Regions from separate parts of the Homo sapiens genome. Here all the other regions are linked to region 1. Evidence: promoter capture Hi-C in 16 types of primary human blood cells and fetal thymus (Javierre and others, 2016). All regions are on one chromosome and are shown on one strand. The core of a region is centred on a gene start or on the middle of the fragment in contact, and the rest is flanking DNA. Distances in the headings are between cores, read along the strand shown.

What was found. The method cuts DNA at HindIII sites, captures the fragments that hold promoters and counts their contacts. A CHiCAGO score of 5 or more calls a contact.
Region 2: a contact is called between the fragment with the promoter of SQOR here and a fragment that was not itself captured in region 1, in 3 of 17 cell types (total CD8 T cells, naive CD8 T cells and total CD4 T cells). The highest score is 8.3, in total CD8 T cells.
Region 3: the fragment with the promoter of USP8 here is called in contact with a fragment that was not itself captured in region 1 in 1 of 17 cell types (fetal thymus); the score reaches 7.1 in fetal thymus.
Region 4: the fragment with the promoter of GABPB1 here is called in contact with a fragment that was not itself captured in region 1 in 5 of 17 cell types (total CD4 T cells, fetal thymus, total CD8 T cells and 2 more); the score reaches 9.9 in total CD4 T cells.

The regions. Positions count from the first base shown.
Region 1 is chr15:48,331,731-48,337,441 of GRCh38, forward strand. It overlaps DUT (deoxyuridine triphosphatase), which reads left to right. Exons shown (of 7, transcript NM_001025248.2): 1 at 1-65; 2 at 538-676; 3 at 2,687-2,778; 4 at 4,316-4,360. DUT-AS1 (DUT antisense RNA 1) reads right to left here and starts at 126. Exons shown (of 3, transcript NR_186809.1): 1 at 1-126. RefSeq lists enhancers at 1-258, 182-476 and silencers at 1-131, 182-476, 5,287-5,356. The HindIII fragment of the contact is 2,422 bases long and covers 2,052-4,473 here.
Region 2 is chr15:45,633,779-45,639,489 of GRCh38, forward strand. It overlaps SQOR (sulfide quinone oxidoreductase), which reads left to right and starts at 1,251. Exons shown (of 10, transcript NM_021199.4): 1 at 1,251-1,330. RefSeq lists enhancers at 395-1,390, 1,853-1,942, 1,973-2,022, 3,852-3,931, 3,962-4,021 and a silencer at 1,203-1,372. The HindIII fragment of the contact is 3,121 bases long and covers 523-3,643 here.
Region 3 is chr15:50,422,147-50,427,857 of GRCh38, forward strand. It overlaps USP8 (ubiquitin specific peptidase 8), which reads left to right and starts at 2,259. Exons shown (of 20, transcript NM_005154.5): 1 at 2,259-2,368. RefSeq lists enhancers at 1,082-2,078, 2,117-2,506 and a silencer at 1,957-2,006. The HindIII fragment of the contact is 13,730 bases long and covers 1-2,807 here.
Region 4 is chr15:50,350,737-50,356,447 of GRCh38, forward strand. It overlaps GABPB1 (GA binding protein transcription factor subunit beta 1), which reads right to left and starts at 4,462. Exons shown (of 9, transcript NM_016654.5): 1 at 4,249-4,462. GABPB1-IT1 (GABPB1 intronic transcript) reads right to left here and starts at 4,143. Exons shown (of 1, transcript NR_026891.1): 1 at 1-4,143. GABPB1-AS1 (GABPB1 antisense RNA 1) reads left to right here and starts at 3,438. Exons shown (of 1, transcript NR_024490.1): 1 at 3,438-5,711. RefSeq lists enhancers at 3,446-3,505, 4,244-4,867, 4,936-5,015 and silencers at 3,636-3,845, 3,856-4,105, 4,686-4,735. The HindIII fragment of the contact is 652 bases long and covers 4,256-4,907 here.

The DNA.
Region 1 (5,711 bases), core at 2,013-4,512:
AGTCGGGGCCGCTGGCTGGAAGGGCGAGCTTCCTAAGGCGGGGGGAAGCCCGGCGCCGGGGCCGGGTAGGAAAGGCGGGGGAGGGGCTCCGGCCGTCTGGAAGGAATCCACGCGGCTTGAGGCTGTGGGGGAAGTAGGGTGGCGAGCGGTCCTTCTGCGCGCGGGGGGCGGGGGGGGTGGGGTGGTCCATTAGGGTCCCCTGGCGAGGGGGCGGCTTTCTAGTGTGTGAGGGCGACGCCCTAGAAGCTCCCCTTCAAAGTTGGCCCCACGCGCTGAATGTGGAAAGTTGACTGGGACCCAGTAGTTTCCCATCCCAAACCTGCTTTCCGAGAAGGGCTTCAAACCCAAAATGTGAATCCCGCCTCCCCTCTCAGCCAGAACTGTGGACTCGTCCCGGGGAGGGGCGGTGGGTGGGGCGGGGCTGGCGGGAAATTTCGGTTTTGGCGCGCTCCCTGCGGCGACGCTCATCGTGCGCTCTCCTCTTCCCCCGGTGGTCTCCTCGCTCGCCTTCTGGCTCTGCCATGCCCTGCTCTGAAGAGACACCCGCCATTTCACCCAGTAAGCGGGCCCGGCCTGCGGAGGTGGGCGGCATGCAGCTCCGCTTTGCCCGGCTCTCCGAGCACGCCACGGCCCCCACCCGGGGCTCCGCGCGCGCCGCGGGCTACGACCTGTACAGGTGAGCGGGGACCTGCCGGCGAGGAGGCTGGGAAGGGCCGGCCGTCCGCTGCCACAGCTAGAAACAGTCACCGGAGAGATCACAGGAACACACTAGCTATAAATAGGATTTCTGCCTTTTTCGTGTTTAAAATTTTAGCTTTCATCTTTGGCATAAATTAAATAGAGATTTGGGCAAAGACTGCAGAATAAGTAAAATAGCTATACGGTGTCTAGCAAGGCGTTACTTTGCAACGTTTATTGTGCCCTTCCTAAATAGAAGATAGAGAGGAAGGCCCATGGTGGCTTTCGAGTGGCCCGAGGGTGATGCTGTGCTCAATAGAAAAACCAAGGTGAGAGCCTAGATGTGAGCGTGAAAATACCTAAGAAGGATGAACGAAGATGCATCTGCCTTAAAAAGTTATTTTCTATACATTCATCCGGCCCAGGGCGGAATTTGAGAAGGCATCTGAAAACGAAAGGCAGAGCTGCCTGTAATCTACCACACTTTCATCTCTACAGCACGTTTTACCTGTACTAAAAACTTTCCGTATGCTGTTGTATTTAGTCCTCACAACAATCCTTAACTAGATAAGTGTTACTTTTTACACAGGCAGGAGTTTGTGAAGAGCTGAATTGATTTCCCCAGAGGCTTGAAGATGATATAATTTTTTATCCCGAATTTTGGGCTTTTTTTTTTTCATCTGACTACTGTGCCCAGTTCTTAGAACCATTAAGGTAGGAGAAAAGTAATGCTGAGAGGGAAGGAGATTTTATACTAAATCCCAAGCATTGGGATTTATTTTAAAGTATCTCAGATAATTCAAACATGAGAACTATTAGTCTAAGCACAGGAGAAGAGAAAGTAGTGCCTGATGATAGCAACAGAAAAAAAAGGAAAAGGAAAGTAGGTATGGACAATTGTAGCTGGAAAAACTACAGTCTCTTAATTTTGATGAATAAAAGTAGAGTGATATAGTTTGACTAGACCTTTCCAAAGTATATTTTGGAGCACTTTCTTGAGTCCTAGGGGAGTCCTTGATTTAAGATACCTTAAGTAGACTCCTAATAAACACAGGTGACTTTCTGTATACTGAAATTGACATGGAAATAATGGATCAGCAATAAATTAGGGCTTAACTGTTTAAAGAGGGATTTCAGTGAAAGAAGGGGTAGTACTGCTTTACCAGAGTTAATTAAGGTCTCCAAAGTAAACTTCCGGTTCTGCTCATTGTAAAATCTCTTAAATTTCTACCCAGGAGAGGGCCACAGTAATATCAAGAGTAGCAGCATTTGCTATGTGGACTTTAGAGGAATTCTGTTCCTAAGCAAGGTCCATCTCCAGGGGCCGTTCACGGTGATCAGCTGTCTCCCTCAGCCAGGAAATTCATAGCCTAAGCTTGGTAAACTACCAAGCCCTGCCTGACAGATACAACACAGTTCTTTATCTCTTATTTTGTCCACCCGTTTTTCTCCTTTCCTTCTGCATATTTTCCCTAATCACACAGATCATTGTGAGAATAAAATGGGTTAATATATGTAAACCAATTAGAACTGTTCCTGGCACACAGTAAAGGCTTAATCAATGATAGCTAGTATTATTAGTAGTATTTGGCCTTTTTTCTTTGTTCTTTCTTCATTTTTTTCCTTTTCAAACTATGGTTGTAAAGCATCCACCTTTTGAAAGTTTGCCTTTCTGCCCTTTCACGCTGATAAGTACCTCAGTTTCCAATAAACTTTTGTTCAGGGGCAAACATTTACAATGTTGACATCTCTTCACACCACCAAAAATATTCATGGAGAATTATTTTATCTAAAGCTGTCTTTTTAATAATAAAATAGCCACCTCTACCTTCTTCATAAACTTTTAAGATGAATTGGTAATTCATCATAGCAAGGTTGATTTTAGAAACTAAAGTTGCATTAATTCATTAAATACACTGAAAGTAATTTTGTATGCTTGGTCACAAAGAAAATATAAAAACAATTTTATAAATAGATTTGCAGTTATTTTCTTTCAATATTTTCTTAGTGCCTATGATTACACAATACCACCTATGGAGAAAGCTGTTGTGAAAACGGACATTCAGATAGCGCTCCCTTCTGGGTGTTATGGAAGAGTGGGTAAGTCATTTAAGAAACAGGTAACTATTTGTCAAGTTCTCCTTTGTGATAGATTCTTCATGTTTCATTTGGGGTAATAAGCAGGCAATATTGCTTGGGCTGTGTCCTAAAAGAAGCACCATTTGTGATAGCAAATGCACTCTTTGAAAGGCTTTATTTACATCTCTGCTTTGCCTCTTTTTGACCCTTTTATTTTTCTCCTTCCTCACTGGAGCTTTTAGGCTCACACTGGCCTAGAAGGCTGTTCTCAGAACATGGCATTTTATATTATGAGAGTAAAACTTCTGACCTGTTGGTCCCAGAATGTGTAAGCCTACTTAACCTTTTCTTGTTTGGCCATGGGGTTAGGGTAAGGGATACTCTTCAGTGTTGTAGAGGCACTGGGAGGAGCTAGGACAAAATGGAGTACACGTCAACAGGTTTGATTTTTCTGGAGCGGATCAGTTGTTACCAGACAGTTCTTTGCAAGAGCGTAAGTTCTTTTTGACTAACTTCAGAGTAAACATAAAGGAGGCAATGGAGCTGTGACGCCCTCCTCCAGGGAAAGGAGCTAGACTGGCACTATATTATTAGCCATGAGTGAGGAAACTGCCAGTACTTCAGCCCTTAAAAGATAACAAGATGGGCTCTCATCTCATCTCTTGAGCATCATTGACTCCATTTTTTAGAATTTTTTCAGGGGAAGGGGCAGGAGATGGAGTGAAATAAAGGTTAGTACAGAAAGAGGCAGCATTATTGACAAAGTGCCTGATTTAAATTATTCTAAAATAAAATGCTGGAAGTTAGGATAATTAATTATAGGCCTGATGCTTGAGTCTGCAATAATAAGGTGTAACCTTAGCTTTTTATTTTTTTCATTTTTTAGGATTAAAAAGTATACTAGCATTGAATCATTGAGACTTAGTTTTTGGCATTTTTACTTAACTGATATTAGCCCATTTATCTTACTCTGGTTCATGTGTTTCCTACAGGCATGTCTTTTGGCATCTGAATCATGAATAGTGGGGTCCCAAGTTGTAGGCTATGGTCTGCTACTATTTGGTTAGGTTTGTTTCCCTCTCCCTTCCTCTTCCTTTCCCTTCCCATCTGCATTGTACATGTTGTGGTGTCCCATCTTAAAACCAAAGTCTTCTTCCTCAGTAGTGTGTTCCTGCTGGCCATACTTCTCTTTCTTCCCCTTTGAGGCTTAACTTCTTGAAAGAGCAGCCTACAGTTGTTCCCGCTTGCTCACCTTTCAGCTCATTCTAGCAGTCCTTCTCCCCTGTCTGCAGCACCACAAATTCTGACTGAAGTCACATGGGAGTGGTTTAAGTTAGTTTTGAATTAAAACCTTGTGGAATTTTTCTAAACTAGTCTTTCCAACTTTGGTAATGCAGTATGATGAATATATATTCTTTAATTCAAAACCATGTGCTAAAGTTAAGATGAAGATATAGATATTATAGGTGAAGAGAATGACATGCTTAAATTGCATCAGTTATCTCTGATATAGCCCTTCCCCCTTAAAATAACCAATGTCTCCTTTTTTGTTTTTTAGCTCCACGGTCAGGCTTGGCTGCAAAACACTTTATTGATGTAGGAGGTAATATATTTCCTTTTTTATTCTGTAAATGTTTGCAAGTATTTACTTTGTCTTTAAAAGGTAATATTCAAATGACAGATTTTATTTTTAAGAAAAGAAAATGATTAGAGGAAAGCTTGTTATAATAGGAGGAAAAGCTTTGTGGTTATTTTAAGTAATTATATTTTGTTTAACTACTAACTTAATTTTTAAAATAATGATTACCTAATTAATAATGACAGATTTAATGATATAATAATTAAGTAATTATTTAAGCAACAAAAGTTCTAGAAAACACAGGTCTATCTTGTAAGAATTTTCTTCATAAGAGAGCTATCTGTCTTTAGCAAAATTTAAGAAGAAAATCTTTCCCTGAAGTCAGGAGAGAAAACACTTTTCTCTAAATTTGTTAAGACAGTCCTCTGTGTTACCTGTTTCCCTTATAATAAAGCCTTTCTCATGTTTGTCTCAAAGTTAACCCTACCTCATGTGGTACCTTTCATGAAGAACCCTCAGTGTCCTCTGCTAACTACTCTTGATACAGAGCTACTCCTCTTATTGTAAGGAAATTTCTACTTTCCTGATGTGGTTTCCTTGTTTCAGGTCCGCTCCAACTGGGATTCAGACCCCACTTATGTGGTCCTTACATACTGACCCTTTATCCCATCAGTAGTGAATCTTTCACTTAACAAGATACCTTGGCCCCCACATAAGTAGGTGTGCTAGATCTCCTCCTCCACCCGTTTTTACAGAGCTGCTTTATGGAGGCTTGTTAACAGATCAGGAAAACTGGCTTAGAAATGAGCCCACATGGATATGTGGTAAAAACTGGAGTCTCTGTGTGATTCCAGCCTCCTTGTTCTTTCCACTGCAATTAATTGTGGAGATTACCCTGCTGCATCCCCCTCACCAACTAAACACGTCCAGAATTAGCTCACTTTTATGTGCCACTGCAAGGGCTAACTAAGCACTTAATGAAACCTGGCTATCCTAGACCTGCCCCTTAGTCTAACATTTGGTGGGTGTGGTGTCTCTCCATAGTGTCACCAGGTGGTGCTGTGGGACAAGACAGGACCCCAAAAGTACACCCTTTAGGGACTAAAGGGGAGCTGAGTTTTACATAGCAGGGTGGACATTGACAGCCCACTCTTGGGTTGAGGATTCCTTGGGCTCTGTAAGTTATGCCCGATGTTCAAAAATGCTTTTACAAGGTCAACTGTGGTCATTTTGGGACAGTAACTTAAGGATATAAATAATTGTATATATTTTCAATGAAGTTTCAAATGATTGTTCAAGGAACGGGAGCTTTGGAATAACAACTGGATGTAGGTCCCAGCTCTGTCATTAACTAGTTATTACTTAACCTTTCTGA
Region 2 (5,711 bases), core at 1-2,500, 2.7 Mb before region 1:
TACAGTCTGCGTTTGTATTGTATTGTTCATGATGATTTTGCCATAGATACAGTCAGTCTCTTTGATTAAAGATAGAAAGTATCAGTTGAAAACATTTAAAAAAATAATATTCAAGGCTGGGCATGGTGGCTCACGCCTGTAATCCCAGCACTTTGGGAGGCCCAGGAGGGCAGATCGCTTGAGGCCAGGAGTTTGAGACCAGCTTGGCCAACATGGTGAAACCTCATCTCTACTGAAACATACAAAAATTAGCCGGGCATGGTGGCACACACCTGTAGTCCCAGCTACTCAGGAGGCTGAGACACCAGAATTGGTTGAACCCATGAGGCAGATGTTGCAGTGAGCCGAGATTGCTCTACTCACTGCGCTCCAGCCTGGGCAACACAGTGAGACTCTGTTTCAAAAAACAACAACAACAACTATATATATATATATATATATATATATTCAAAATTCATAAAACCAAATAAGTGTAAAAGAAACTCAAACTTTCAAGGGTTTATTTTTGTTTGTTTTTTTGAAAGCTTCTAGCACTTGCACTTCTCAGGTTATGAGACTTTTGGGACACCCTGTATTTATTGTAAAAAGGGTTACTGAATCTGATATGGTGGAGAACCACTCACTGAGACTTTACATCAACCTGGAAAGAGCCGCCAACTGAAAATGTCCAGTCATGAATATGGGATGGGACACTGTGGAGGCCAGTGGCTGGAAGCCAGCTTACCCCTGCCTGCGCGTTTTGAAGGAAGGGCTCCAGCGCACACCAAAGCTGAACCTCGGTCACCTTCTCTGTGAAATGAGCGCGGGAATACCTGTGTTTCTGGGCAGCTGTGTGAACCCGGTGAGAAGCCCAGGGCACATAGGAGGACCCAGTGGGAACAGCCAGAGCCTCTCTGCACAGCGCCCCGCCTCCGCTTTTGCCTGCCCTGATTACAAAACGCTGTTGGCACCCAGGGGCGGAAGCGTCAGGTGGCCTCGGTGTCCTCCGCCTGTGCGCCCCAGCCTGCGGGGCCGCCCTTCAGGGCGCGCAAGGGGCGAGTCTGTCCAGCCGGCAGCACCCCAGGCCGGATGGACGCTTGTTCCTGGTTCTGTGCCCCGTGAGCGCTCAACGCCCTGGTGTGTTCACTGACCATGGTGCCTGGGCTGCGGCGCCGGGCGGGGCACGGCGGGACTTTTCGGGACCTTTCCTGGGGGGAGCCTCGCTTTCCCCGCCTCCAGCCTCCGCCCGGATGGCAGGCGGGCGGGGCCCCAGTCCAGGCCTTGAGACCCAGAAGGGAGCGAAGGTTTTTGCTGCGCCAACGCAGTGACCGAAGGCTCCGCTCACGCCCGGGTAAGAGGCATCCGCGGCCGATCTTTGGCCCTGGGCCAGCGGAGGGAGACTGGGCGGGGACAGCGACCACCACTGAGGCTGTTTGTTAGCTTAACTCGGTTTCCGCAGCTGGGACTCCGCAGACCCGGTGCGCCGCGCCCCAAACTTTGCTTCCTCAACTCCGGACACCTGCAGCTCTTGCTGCCCTTGTCTGGAACCCGGGTCTTGGGACTCTTGCTTCCTTCTCAGAGTGTCAGAGCCTCAGGGCCGCGGAGAGGCCAACCCGCGAGGGGTGCTTAAAAACCGAAGTATCCGTGGTCTTGGTGTGTGGACGTTTCTGGCGCCTTCCACCTGTTGACTGTCACTCGGCACCGTCCTGGAGCGGGAGTGGGTGCTCGGCGTCCGGGGGCCAGGGATTGACACAGTCATCCACCGACACTGCGCGTGGGACAGAGGGGGCGCTCGAGGGGTCGGCTGCAGCTGAAACCTGAAGGGGAGAGGATTTAGGGCACCTGCTGAACAGGAATTGGTGGAAAGGGAGAAGGGGTCTTCTGGTGGAATCTGGGCTCATTTCCTTTCCTCTTCATCTGTCTCTTTTATTTATCAAAATTCCAACCTGGCTTTTTGCTCAAAGACGCTGAACAGAGCCCCTGGCTTTGCCTGCGCTGCCCATTGCTATAATGCAGGGCTCTGTTCCATTTTTGTGCTGTGCACCCCTTTGGCATTTCTGGGAAGGCTAAAGACTCTCAGAACAATACTTTTTTTTGAGACAGAGTCTTGCTCTGTCGCCCAAGCTGGAGTGCAGTGGCGCGATCTCGGCTCACTGCCACCTCCACCTCCCGGGTTCAAGCGATTCTCCTGCCTCAGCCTGCCGAGTAACTGGGATTACAGGCGCAGCACACCTGGCTAATTTTAGTATTTGTAGTAGAGGCGGGTTTCACCATGTTGCCCAGCTGGTCTCGAACTCCTGGCCTCAAATGATCCGCACACTTCGGCCTTCCAAAGTGCTGGGATTACACGAGTGAGCCACCGCGCTGGACCAGAACAATGCTTTTTTAAAGGTATAAAACAAAAGGAAGAGTATTATAAAGGAAACCAATTGCAAAACACATGTCAAAACATTAAAAGAATTTATGATATGGTAATATATATGTCTTTAAAAAACGAATGCGTTATTTAATAACAAGGTTATTAAATAACAAGATCTAGCAGTGGATTAAATAGTTACCATAATTTTGAAGTAGTAAAGAACATAAACAATTATTTCAAGATATAGGTAATACTTGTAATATAAGAAAATATCTGTAATTTCTTTCTTCTTTTTTTTTTTTTTTTGAGACGGAGTCTCACTCTGTCACCAGGCTGGAGTGCAGTGGCGCGATCTCGGTTCAATGCAACCTCCGCCTGCTGGGTTCAAGTGATTCTCCTGCCTCAGCCTCCCGAGTAGATGGGACTACAGGTGTGTGCCACCACACCCAGCTAATTTTTGTATTTTTAGTAGAGACAGGATTTCACCATATTGTCCAGGATGGTCTCGATCTCTTGACCTTGTGATACGCCCACCTTGGACTCCCAAAGTTCTGGGATTACAGGCATGAGCCACTGCGCACGGCCAATATCTGTGATTTCTATTGGTGACAAAGTCTTAGTATTGCCAATACTGCTGTGGTTTGTTGGCTACATACATAATTGAAGTAAATGTTAAATTTCAGTTAGATACTAGAGAAATAAAAGATGTAAATATTAAATATCCGTAAAAATAAAGATGTAAAATACTTTTCCATCTAAGTTTTTGGGTCCAGGTTAAGATCCTCTGATAGTAGAAAGGGCACTGACCCAATGACTTGGCTTCTGGGCTTGACACTTCCATTGACATTTCCAAGGCCCATTGTAACCTTGGCTTTTTTTTTTTTTTGAGACATGGTCTTGCTGTGTCGCCTAAGCTGGAGTACAGTGAGGTGATCTCTGCTCACTGCAACCTCCTCGCAGGTTCGAGTGATTCGCCTGCCTCAGCATCCCTAGTAGCTGGGATTACACCAGCCACCCACCACCACACCTGGCTAATTTTTGTATTTTTTGGTAGAGACAGGGTTTCACCATATTGGCTAGGCTGGTCTTGAACTGCTGACCTCAAGTGATCTGCCCTTGTCTGCTTCCCAAAGCAACCACCACACCCAGCTTAACTTTGGCTTTTGAATTTCTTTTCGCCTCAGCTTCTTCATTGTACAGTGGAGATAATAACACCTTCCCAAGTATTTAAGGCACCCAGCACTGCACTTAGTGTAGAGGGCTGAAGTAGATACCATTTATCAGAACTTATTTGTATCCCTCCCAAGCTTATGGCCTTATATCCCCAAGCCTGGGGAGGTACTCATTATTTATTGAATGAATAAGTGGGTCAGAAAGGGTTGCTTGTGACTAAGTCCAAAAAACAAAATTCATTAAGGAGACAGCTGGTGGTTTGGGAAATGACTTTGTTTAAATTTGGGGCTTTTTTTCTGGCTGGAAAAATATATAAACACATTTGGAACGGGGGTGTTTGAAATGTCAGTCAGGGCCCAGGGTCTGTGTGTGCGTGTCTGTGTGGCTGGTGTTCTGCCAGTGAAAATGAAACTGAATGTTGAAAGGAAACCGGATTCCTTTGCAGAACAGTTTCTCCTCCATGTTGCCTGTGTCTAGCTTTGTTAATCCGATGTGTTGTAACACAGGAAATGTCTTATAAAGAATGGAGACGGACCCATGACAAGGCATTTCTGGGCATAGATGTACTTTTTTCTTCTCCTTTCACGTTTCCCTGCTCCACTATCTACTATATAACTCCTCTTTGACTCTGAAGACTTGGTAAATAGGAGCAGTTTGGATAGCTTATGGAAAGCTGCCCAGACCTGGCTGGAAGCCAACTAGTTGCTTCTTAATCCCAGCCTTAAAAATCTTTGTAATCCCCAGATGTAGGTGGTAATAATAATAAAGAAAAGTAGATCTAGCCAACCATCCCTGTGATTTACATTGAGAAAGTGCTAAATTGGGACAGGAGGTAGAGAACTTTGTGGAAAAAAACAAAACAGAACAAAAAAACCCTCGGAAATTTAGAACACACTGGGACTATCTATGTCTGTAACTTTGGGAAGGGCAAATACTGGTGTTATGGACTCACCAAATTCATATATTGAAACCCTAGCCCCCAGGATCTTAGAATGTGACTGTATTAGGAGATAGTGCCTTAGTTAGAAGTGGTGGTGAGCACCTGTAGCCCCAGCTACTTGGGAGGCTGAGGTGGGAGAACTGCTTGAGCTCAGAAGTTCGAGGCTAGCCTGAGCAACATAGCAAGACCTTGTCTCAATAAAAGAATAATTAGCCAGGCACGGTGGCTCACGCCTGTAATCCCAGCACTTTGGGAGGCCGAGGTAAGCAGATCGCTTGAGGCTGGGAGTTTGAGGCCAGCCTGGCCAACATAGAGGAACCCCGTCTCTACTAAAAATTCAAAATATTAGCTGGGTGGGGTAGTGTGCACCTGTAATTCCAACTACTCAGGGGGCTGAGGCATGAGACTTGCTTGAACCGGAGAGGAGGAAGTTGCATTGAGCCAAGATTATCATGCCACTGCATTCTAGCCTGCGCAACAGAGCAAGACTCTGTCTCAAAAAAAGAAAGAAAGAAAAAAAAAAAAGGAAAATTAAGTTAGGTCATTAAGGTGGAGCCCTAATCCAATATGAATAGTATCCTTATAAGAAGATGACTCGTCAGGAGCACATGTGCACAGAGAAAAGGCCACGCAAAGGCACACTGAGAAGGTGGCCATCTGCAAACCAGGGAGAGAGATCCCAGGAGAAACCAGTCTCATCAGCACTGAGGTCTTGGACTTTCAATCTCCAGAACTTTGAGAAAATAAATTTCTGTTCTCTAGACTTCATCTAGTCTATAGTGTTTTGTTATGGCAGCCCTAGAAAATTAATACAACTGGTTCTACCAAATGGACAATAGGTTTAAAAAAAATGGCTACAACTAGGCACCATCTCTTTTAAGTCATGATCCCGACATGTCCATCACTTGCTCTTAGGATCTCTTACCCAACCTATGCAGAAGAGTCTCCCATGTACTTTCCTTCTACAGACACCCTGTGTGGTCCCTAGGATCTTGCCTGAAGTTGTTAAAGCCATATTCAGCTTCATGATTTTGACTGTTAGGAAAAGAAAAACTTGGCCTCTTCAGCAAGTGACCTAGGTTAGCTGTTGTGCCATGTACATAGTAAGTACTTTGTAAATGTATGGTGGGTGATGGGTGATGATGTTATGATCATCCTTAAATACCATGGGGTGACTCCCTTCTGATCATAATGAATCTCCATGTTTTGGCCCTAGCCCAGCCCTCAGGGAACTTTCATGCCACCTAGCTGGGAACCAGC
Region 3 (5,711 bases), core at 1,009-3,508, 2.1 Mb after region 1:
AATGTCCTGGACCTTGAAACAGCAGCTAGTGTTTTGAGCTCTAAGCTAACACTTTGGACTTTCTTTTTTTTTTCGAGATGGAGTCTTGCTCTGTCGCCCAGGCTGGAGTGCAGTGGCACCATCTCGGCTCACTGCAAGCTCCACCTCTCGGGTTCACGCCATTCTCCTGCCTCAGCCTCCTGAGTAGCTGGGACTACAGGCGCCCTCCACCACGCCTGGCTAATTTTTTGTATTTTTAGCAGAGATGGGGTTTCACCGTGTTAGCCAGGATGGTCTCGATCTCCTGACCTCGTGATCCGTCCGCCTTGGCCTCCCAAAGTGCTGGGATTACAGGCATGAACCACCGCGCCTGGCCACATTTTGGACTTTCAGTCATGTTTTCTTTCCCCAATGAAATAGAAAAGTTTTATTTCAAAGAGGAAAAGGGTGCAACAGCTGCAACATACATAAAACCTATTTAGTTTTACTTGGGAGTGGGAATCAGGAAACCTGGGTTCTGTTTTTGACTTAGTTTGGATAAAGAAGGGTAGTTAAGCTGTCCTTATGTCTCTTACCAAATGGAGAAAATACTGCTGTAGTTCACAGCAATTTGGGGAGTTTTAGATTCTATGGAAAATGGAAATCCTATTTGTAACTTAGATTTTTTCTTTGGAGAAGGAGTCTCGCTCTGTTGCCCAGGCTGGAGTGCAGTGGCACGATCTCGGCTCACTGCAACCTCCACCTTCCAGGTTCAAGCGATTCACTGACTCAGCCTCCTCAGTAGCTGGGATTACAGGCACGCGCCACCATGCCCAGCTAATGTTTGTATTTTTAGTAGAGACCAGGTTTTGCCATTTTGGCCAGGCTGGTCTCAAACTCCTGACCTCAAGTGATCTGCCCACCTTGGCCTCCCAAAGTGCTGGGATTACAGGCGTGAGCTACCGCTCCCGGTCTAATTTTTAAATTTTTGTTTTGTAGAGATGAGGGTCTCCCTTTGTTGCTCAAGCTGGTCTCTGTCTCTTGGGATCAAGGGATCCTCCTGCCTCAGCCTCCCAAAGTGCTGGGATTACAGGCCTGGGCCACTGCAACCTGGCCTTCATCACAAATTCATTGAACACACTTTCTTTATTTTATCCTTTTTTATTTTTAAAAATTTTTATTTCAGTAGTTTTGGAGGAACAGGTTGCATGGAAAAGTTCTTTAGTGGTCATTTCTGAGATTTTGGTGCACCCATCACCCGAGCAGTGTACACTGTACCATGTGGCACACACTTTCACTTAAAGCATTTACTAGACCTCGCTAGCCAGATTTCCCATCCCTGAGACACCTGGAATGTTCCTGAGGACTTAGTGACTACTGCCTAAAGCTCCACCCAAGTCAATTTTATGTTTACAGGCAACCGGAGCATCCAATCACCTTTCTCTAAGAGAGTACAAAGATCAGCTCGCGAGAAAGTTCAGACGTCTCATTTCGTTTCTATTACACGGGGCCTTCGCCCAACCAGACGGAGTCTTGCTCTGCTGCCCAGGCTGGAGTGCAGTAGCGCGATCTCGGCTCATTGCAACCTTCGCTCCCCGGGTTTAAGCAATTCTCCTGCCTCAGCCACTGGAGTAGCTAGGATTACAGGCGCACGCCACCACGCCAAGCTAATTTTTTGTATTCTTAATAGAGACGGGGGTTTCACCATGTTGGCCAGGCTGGTCTCGAACTCCTGACCTCATCATTTGCCCGCCTCGGCCTCCCAAAGCGCTGGGATTACAGGCGTGAGCCACCGTGCCCAGCCTCGCCGGGGCCTTTTAAGTGACGTTAAAAATTGTACATAAAATATGTTTTAGGATAATACTTGTTTTTCTTTGACCAAAGGCTTGGCTTCAGAGAATGTTTAGCCAGAAATAGAGGGGCGTTAAATCCCCTTTTTTCTAATTTCCAATCTGAGGAGGAAAATAACGTAGTAAAGGGACGCAAGAGCAACCTTGCTTCTTCCACAACAAGGCCCAGGCGCCGCCTTGCAACCCGGAAATGCAGGGTGCAGTGCGGGGGGTAAGGGACCGGCCAACTATGTTGACCCGACTCAGAGAAACCCCGCCCTTGCCGCCACCGCCCACCCATAACGTCCTCCTCGACCCTCCCTCGACCATCCCTCGCCCCGCGGCCCTCACCGAAAAGGGGAGGGCGGTGGAAGAGAGAGGAGTCAAGGGAGCGCACGCGAAGCCCCGCCCCTGCCGTGACGTCTGGAGACGCGACGCGTCGCCTCGCAATGCAAATCGGGAAAAGGGGGTGAGCTGGGCTGGCTTCCGTCCTGGTAGCCAAGGCTAATTCTCCCTCGAGTTCTTGGGAGATGGGCATTTGGCGAGAAGGCTGGCGTTAGTGAAGCGCGCCCGGCGTCACGGTGAGTGCGGGTCTTGGGCCCTAGCACCTGTTCTCTGGGAAGTCGTCCGCTGTGAACGATGAACGCCTTTCCTTCCACCAGCTGCTGGTTACCCCGGAGACAAGCTCTGTCCGCGGAGAGGAGTGGGACAACTCCTAAAGGTAGAATCAGCTTGTGGAGAGGAAAGGCCCAACCTTGAGTCTTTTACGCCATCTACCTAGGATTGCCAAGCGAGTTTCGTGTGTTTTTTTGGTTTTAAAAGGTGGCTTTGACCAATCTTCCGTTCTCTTGGACACTTATACCCGACTTTGACCTCTTTCCTCTTGCTTCCGGTTTTTTTTTTTTTCTGCAATCTGCCTACAATCCCAGGCCTTACTGTAGCTCCTAAAACTGTTTCCCAGTTTCTCTTCTTCCCCAGTCACACTTGATTTTAGTGAAGTTTGAGTTTAAAGACCCTATAAGCTTGTCAGAGTTAAAACTATGACTTCCTCAAATAGAAGATTTTTTTTTTTTCCCCTAAAAAGTGCCTTCCATCCTAGAGTTGTGGGACAAGTTAATTTCACCGCCACTCCACCTTGGAAATTATCAGAATCCTTACTAGCAGTGATGTGCATTATAAAGCTGCAGACCACCCTCCTGGGTTTATTTCTTGCCTCCAGTTCATTCTGTGACCTTGAACAAGTCACTTAATCACTAACAAAAAATTTACCTGACACGGAGGTGTTGCAGAGCCTAAGGAATTTAGTATTTGTTAAGAGACCTGAGGGTTTCAGATGAAAGGGATTTATATCTAAAGGATGTTACCTTTTCTGAATCTGCAAAGCATCGTTAGTTTTGTAAATATCTTGCTGCAGCCATTAAAAATGCCAAGTGGTATTTGTTAAGGAAGTATTCCTGTTTTAGGCTTGCTCTGCTGCGGCTTTGCTATGTAAGCAGATTTTTGCATTTCAGCCGATTCTGTTTAAGATTCGTTGGTGAATGTCATTCATGATGGATTTGGGTAGTTTCTCCTTACAGCATATCCCTGGACTATTAAGCATATCTGGAAGGTGATATCGGTTGTGTTATGTCTTTATCATGTTGATATGGCTGCTTTGAAATATGTATTCCTTTTCTTGTGACACATTGGATGCATCTTTAATATTAGTGAAGACCCTGTAGTAGTTTAAAAAAAAAATACACCTCTCATTAATGAAATTTTGCACATAGACATCTGTTTTTTTAAGAAAACAATGTATAAGAAAAACTAACAAAAATGTTTTAAAGGTGCCTTTTTTAGCATTTCGTTTTTTAATATATTTACTTGGACTTTAATCTTTATGGGCATTTGTTTATTAATGTGGACGTGGCTGGGCGCAGTGGCTCACATCTGTAATCCTAGCACTTTGGGAGGCGGAGGTGGGCGGATCACTGAGGTCAGGAGTTCGAGATCAGCCTGGCCAACATGGCGAAACCCGGTCTCTACTAAAAATACAAAATTAGCTGGGCGTGGTGGTGCACGCCTGTAGTCCCAGCTACTCTGGAGGCTGAGGCAGGAGAATCGCTTGAACCTGGAAAGCGAAGGTTGCAGTGAGCCGAGATTGCGTCATTGCACTCCAGCCTGGGTGACAAGAGCAAAACTCCGTCTCAAAAAATAAAAAATAAAAAGCGTGGACATAATGGAAAATAATCAAAATGACTTTTGGGTAAGACAGTTGGAAAATAAAGCCAGTACATTAAATTTTTTTCATAAGTCTAGCACTATATTACGAACTTTTCTCCATGAAAATGCACTCATATTTATGGAAGTGAAAGGAAAAAAATGTCTTCAGGTATGTGTTGCTAATAAAATTAGATATAATTAAGGAAACATTTAAAAAATACCTTGTTGTTGTCCCAGTTACCTATTGCTGCATAACAAATCACTCCAAAACATAGTGACTTAAAACTGTAATTTAGTATCTCTCCTGTTTCTCTGGCCTGCCTGGACTTAGCTAAGTGGTTTTCACCTAGAGTTTAATGCGTTTGTATTCAGATAAGCAGCTGAGTTTGGAGTCAACCGAGAGCTCAGCTGGTCTGGACATCCAAAATGGCTAATTCACGTGAAGGCGTTTGATGTTGGCTAGGAGTTCAGCTGGAAATGTCAACTGGAATGCCCACACATAGCCTCTTCACGTGACTTGAACAGTATGGCGGCTAGGTTCCGAGAATACATGTTTGAGGAGTCAGGAAGTAGAAGCTGCCAGTCTCCCAAAAAGCCTGAGCCCAGAAATTCGCACAACATTACTTCCAACATACTCTGTTGGTTAGAGCAAAGACCAGCGTACAACCCTCACCTTTGAAAGGAAAAATGTCAAAGAATTTGTGGCCGTGCTTTGCCTACTATAATTTTGATGACAAAGTTGTATTGGACTCTTGTTTGCATTTATATAGCAGATGAAGAATCAGGTACACTTCCAATTTCCAGTTTCTTTCTTTCTTCTTCTTCTTTTTTTTTTTTTGAGATGGAGTCTTGCTCTGTTGTCAGCCTGGAGTGCAGTGTACGATCTCAGCTCACTGCAACCTCTGCCTCCTGGGTTCACGCCATTCTCCTGCCTCAGCCTCCCGAGTAGCATGTCACCAAGCCCAGCTAATTTTTGTATTTTTAGTAGAGATGGGGTTTCACCATGTTGGCCAGGATGATCTTGATCTCTTGACCTGTGATCCACCTGCCTCAACCTCCGAAAGTGCTGGAATTACAGGCGTGAGCCACCGCGCCTGACCCATTTCCAATTTCTTTAACCGTAATACTTTATGTTGTAATGGCATATTACAGTTTTCAAAGCATGTTTTTGTATATTTTTTCACTTGATACCTATGGTCACCCTATAGAAGCAGACAAATAGTTCCTATTTCATTTTGCAGATGAAAGTAAACTGAAGAGTGGTGGTGGTATTGGGAGTGATTTACGGAATTTGTTCAAAGTCATATGATTAATAAATGGAAAGTAAGGCCTGCAACAGTTCCATAATATTAAATTTATTAGTACTGAATGATGAAATATTATATTAAACTTATTTGGAATTCTACATTTATAGCCGTACTAATTTTTTTTTTTTTTTTTTTTTTGAGACGGAGTCTTGCTCTGTCTTCTAGGCTGGAGTGCAGTGGTGAGTTCTCGGCTCACTGAAATGTCCGCCTCCTGGGTTTAAGCAATTCTGCTTCAGCCTCCCGAGTAGCTGGGACTATAGGCACCTGCCACCATGCCCGGCTAATTTTTGTATTTTAGTAGAGATGGGGTTTTGCCATGTTGGCCAGGCTGGTCTTGAACTCCTGACCTCAGGTGATCTGCCCGCCTCAGCCTCCCAAAGTGCTGGGATTATAGCCGTGAGCCACCATACCTGGC
Region 4 (5,711 bases), core at 3,212-5,711, 2.0 Mb after region 1:
CAGCCTACCACCCAAAACAACTCATTCTATTTTCACAATTTTGAGGAAATTTATCTTGAAAGAGAATTGAAATCTGCTTCTTTTAAACTTCCACCCACTGACCCTAGTTCCTTCTGGTCAAGTCAAATCTGATCCTTCTGCATGACAGAACTCCAAATCCTTAAAAGTGGCTGTTACTTCTTAAAAGAAGCTCCTCTTCTTTAGGTCAAACATCCCATTTTTTCAACTTTTTCTCATTTCCATTTCTCTCATGATCAAGGTCCTCGTTTATGCTCTACAGATAAGTGATTTTGACACTTAGGTGTCTACCACCTTGGAAATGAGAAAAATTAAGGTCCGTTCCTACCCTACTTAAGTTTGGGCCTCTGTGTGGCTTTTTATTAGCTCTCCAGATGATTCTGATAAAGTCTGAGAATGAATACAAGGTCTCACTTATGATAGTATGCTACCCAAAAAGCCAACACAATACCCCAAATATAATATAACTAGTACACAGTAAAGTGGGGCTAACACCTTGCTCTGTCAATAAGCTGTTCTACCAACTTCAGAATTATTCACAGATGGGTGTGTTGGCTGACGCCTATAATCCCAACACTTGGGAGGCCAAGGTGGGAGGATCACTTGAGTCCAGAAGTTTGAGACCAGCCTGGGCAACACAGTGAGATCTCGTCTCTACAAAAAATTAAAAAATTAGCCAGACATGTTGGCAGGTACCTGTAGTCCCAACTACTCAGGAGGCTGAGGCAGAGGCAGGATCGCTCGAGCCTGAAAGGTGGAGCTTGCAGTGAAGTATAATCGCACCACTGCACTAAGCCTGGGTAACAGAGAAAGCAAGACCCTGTCAAAGAAAGAAGAGGTGCAAAGGGGAAAACAGGGAGGGAAGGAGAGAGAGGGAGAGGGACAGAGGGAGAAGGAGAGAGGAAAGAGGGAGGGAGGGAGGGAGGGAGGGAGGGAGACAGAAAGGTGCACTAGCCCACCAACTGAACTGACAGCTGATTGCACCAAAGCATCTTCTTTGTATAGAGCACTGTGATGTCAACACTGAGAAAAAACACAGGCCCTAATACTGATCTCATCTAGTGCTAGATTTACCTTCTAGAAAGCATGATGGAACAAACATCTTCAGAAAACTATAATACTAATTGTAGCTATCCCAATGTAGGCACATCAGAGCTATAGAAACATTGTGATTACTAGCTGGAAACCATACTAGTTGTTGGGGAGGAGAGGGGAGCAGAGGGATGACACTAAGGAAACTAAGTTGCTCTCAACTTCAAGATTTTGTGTGGGTTTGTTTTTCAACGTTTGCAAAGTCAGAAGAGATGGAGGCCATCAGTGAGTTCATCTGAACTCAGGCTACTTGCAAACAGAGACTGGGTAACTGCCTCGTGCACCCTCAAAAATAAATTCATGATGCAAAACTTCATGTAATTTCTGAATTTCTGAATTCCTCATGACGTGCACTTTACCTGTTACCTGTTAATATTTCTGGTACTGAGGGGCAAAAGAAAAAAGTAAAAAAAAATTCATGGTACAGGAGATGTGGTCCATTACAATGACACAATGTTATGGGAAAAAACACACTAAAACCAAGCATACTTTTTTTTTTTTTTTTGAGACAGAGTTTCGCTCCTGTTGCCCAAGCTGGAATGCAATGGCGCTATCTTGGCTTATTGCAACCTTTGCCTCTCTGGCTCAAGCGATTCTCCTGCCTCAGCCTCCCGAGTAGCTGGGATTACAAGCGCGCACCACCACGCCCAGCTAATTTTTTGTATTTTTAGTAGAAATGGGGTTTCACCGCGTTAGCCAGGCTGGTCTCAAACTCTTGACCTCAGGTGATCGGCCCGCCTCCACCTCCCCAAGTGCTGGGACTGCAGGCGTGAGCCACTGTGCCTGGCCAAACCAAGTGAACTTAACCAAGATCCAATCTATTTTCGTTTGAACAGCAAACATTAAAAGTACACCTGGTATTTTCTAACAATTACACGAAGAATGACCAGATGCTTCCTGTTGATGGAACAGTAGAGAACTATAGACTGACAGATTCAGACTACAGTTCACAGAAACAACTGGAAACAAACTTAGCTTCCTTTCAAAGCCATTAAAATACGGCCTTAAATTTTTATGCATTAATCAATTAAGTATAATTGTCTCCCAATAAGTATAATTGTCTCCCAACCTAGAAAACCCAGAATGATTCAGAGAGACAAAGAACTCTAAGGATATGTCTCTGCAAACTGTTCGTTTCACCAAAGGATTCACTGCAGAATTAATTTTCTGTAAAATCTGTACCTCCTATAATTTTCAACATGTTCTATCTTTAAAGATAACATTTACACAAGTGTTGATAGCATATGTGGAATTCACGTGTTACTTGTGTAAATCATTATAAATATGTAATAGAATTAAATGTTTTAATCACTTAAGAATATCTTCGAATGTTCCTGAGTCTCCGAGATCATAGGCAGATTATGCAGTCTTCATCTGTGATTTTGTTTAGTCACCTAAATTCCAACTTTTAAAAAAGTTAGAGCCCAGTAAAAAAAGTATGGGAATCAATCTTATTCAGTCTTGTTAAAATGTGTCTTGCATAACAGCTTGATTTGACTTGTATGGTGAAAGCACGGTAAGAATGACACATTTCTGTTTTTTGGTTTTTTTTTTAAAAAAGTATGAGTGTACAGTGGAGTGTTCCAGAGGTTACATGGTGTGCTAACCACAACAGTCTGACGTAGATCTGAGAATCTTCTATTAAACCAGGCATTAAAAAGATTTGCAAAAATGCAAGATGTCACTCTTATCATCTATGTTAACATGTAATGGATTTATTTTTTGTTTTTGGAAAAAAAAAACCAAGAGAAAAGAAAATAAAGTCATCTTTAGTTTCCTTAAATTCAAAGTCTGAGCCTGAAAATGGAAGTATCAAAGCTGATGGTTATACGTCAGTGAGAAAAAAATTTAAACCAAGCTGGGTGGGTCTTTACATGAGATAAACTATCTACAGGAAAGAATGACCACTAACTTCTGCATAATAAATGAGAGTGGATCTTTTAATTCTGAGATGGCAATGTACTTTACAAGGACCATTTACAGACTACATCAAACCTTTTTCTAGATAAAAAACGTACTTCAGTAACTTGCCTGAATTGAGAGAGCAAAACAGTCCGGAGAGAAAACTTAAAATGTTTCCACATTATCAAGCCCCCTTCAGAAGTACTGTGGTCTCGGCCCCTCCTTTGAACAGATGTCCGCTCGCCACAGTCCAATCAGGTTTAAAGCAAGAGTATTTGTACTGAAAACAAGCTTAAAGTGGGAAGACACACACAAAGCAGGCCTGTATCATTCCTTTGGTTTCAGTTTTCACGATGCACCCTTGAGGCTAGGCACGCTGATTCAACACACTTGGAGAGCTTCACCGAAACACACTAAACACACAGTGATGAACTGTGCCCTGGCAGAGATGACCTGGCAAAATTCTCAACTTCTTCCCTGAGGCAGTGCACCCGCAGTTCTCGGCGGCGAAGTCTTTGGGGCAGAAGTCCCGAGCCTTCAGAACGGCAGGCTTCTCCCCCTCAGGACTCCAGTCCCCGCGGCCAAGGCTGTCGCTGCGGGGGCCCCGCGCGGGACTGGCCAGGCTCTTCCATTAACCCTGTCTGGTCCGGCCGATCCCGCCGCGACCCGAGCGCCTCTCGGCCCCGCAGCACAGGGCGCCCAGGACCCGCCACCCTCGCCGCCCGTTCCCCTCTCCGGAGAGCCCGGCGGGGCCGTCAGGCTGCCGAGACAAAGGGTACCGCGGCGCCAGAGGCCGAGGCCCAGCCGCGCCTGCCTTCCTCTTTCTCCCGCCCACTGCCAACCTCCAGTCGCCCGCAGAACCTCCGCTGCCTCGGCGCGACCCCATCGCCACCCCGGGGCTGCCGCTCGGGACCGGCAAGCCGGGTAGCCGCGAGGCGGCCGCGGCATGCTAGGGCCGAGGAGGGGGCGGCGGCCGCCACCATGTCTGCCCGCCCCTCCCAGAAGCAGTGTGCCCAGCGGACAAAGCGCAGCGGCGGCGCGGGCGCCCAGGCCGACCCCGCCGACCCCCGCGGAATAAGCGGGGCCAGGAGCCCCGGAAACCCGGCGCCTTAATGCAATAAACAGGAAATCGCGGGGATGATCTGGGTTCCGGGGGAAGTGGAATTATTTTTTACCAGCGAAGAGATCAACTTCCACATCCGGTGGTAACAGGGCCCTACACAGACCCGCACTGACCTGGAAAAGCTTCGGGAGCGGCGACGGGAAGGCAGCAGGAGGTGGTGCGGGGACCCGAGGCGCCTCGTACCCGGCCGGGCTGACGCGGCCCCGCTACACACAAAGCGCTTCAGCTGCACAGGGCGCTATTTTCCGAAAATGCCGCGTCTGGTCGGCGCCCAAAATCCCCACCGAAAAGTCCCCCGTGCTGCGCGCGGAGGGACACATGGTGTGCGAGTGAGTCAAGCTCCCAGCATCCCTCCCGGACCCGGCCCTCTTCAGCTCATCGCCCGAGGATTTTCCGCCTCTGCCCTCGTCGGCAGATCCTGCTCCTACCCACTCCCTAGCTGTGTTCCCGCGGGGAGAGAGGGGAAAGAGGGTCTGATTTTTTAACGAAGGGAAAGAAAATATGCCATTTCTAGCGCTTCAGCCACACAAAGAAAGCGGCGGAATGATCCGCTCTCGGCGACCGCAAGTCCCGGCTCGCCCGGCGCCTGCGCGGCAGCGGGGGTGGGAGCTGCGGACGGCCATGTGCGCGGCGGAGAGGCCGGGTGGCCACCGAACCTTCCCGCCTGTTCTGCGGTGGGTAGGAGTTTGGAAACTAATGTTCCTGTGCTAACCTTCGTGTCTCTGTGACATGACTGTTGAAAGACGGAGAGTGCGGAATCTTTGGAGTTTTAAGCTTGCCAACTGTGCGGCCTAGCAGAATCCTGGGAGACGGAAGGACAGCCAAGAGGCTAGGATTTACCTTTAAGTGTCCCTAGATTCAACTAGGCAGACTGGGACGGGAGACGCTGTGAAGGTACCAGGGAAGGAACGAGTGAGGTTCCTTTTCCACTTTTTCATAAACTCAACAGTCAGGTTCATGACGAAGATATAGATATTTCTGTAGATTTTTTCCCCAACATTCTAATTATGCCTCATGTTTCGTAGATCCTAGTAACTGCTTGGATTACTGCCACCTCAGAGGTAGAGATCTGTTTTTCCGTGGCTGGAATGCCAAAAATTTTGTTGTATTTTATTAAGAAAGTAGCAAAAGTTTGGAGATTTGCAAAGTTAAAAAAAAAAAAAGCATTATGAACTTAATCTAGATGTGATTTGCTAAGGAACTTAATATATTGATATGTTTTTCACAGGGGCGTCTGGGCATGGCTTTCCCAACCTAGTAACTGCAACTTTTAGCATCCTACATGTAGGACTTGGGAATATGTGAGACAGCGCCAAGAATTTAATCCAGGAGAATTGACAAGCTTAAATGAAATCCATATTGCCCACTGATTTTGTGCAGCTTCAGATAAGTAATCTTTCTCCACTTAGCCTTTTGTAACAATTGATGTAATAAAGGTTTGTAGTCTTTGTGTAATTTATTAAAGCATTGTGCCTAAAATAGAAAAAAAGCATAGGAACCATAGGCTGTGTTTTCTTTTGATTTAATATTTTCATTTCTTCAGTTAATAGAAATTTGCCAAATTCTGATGTTTTTC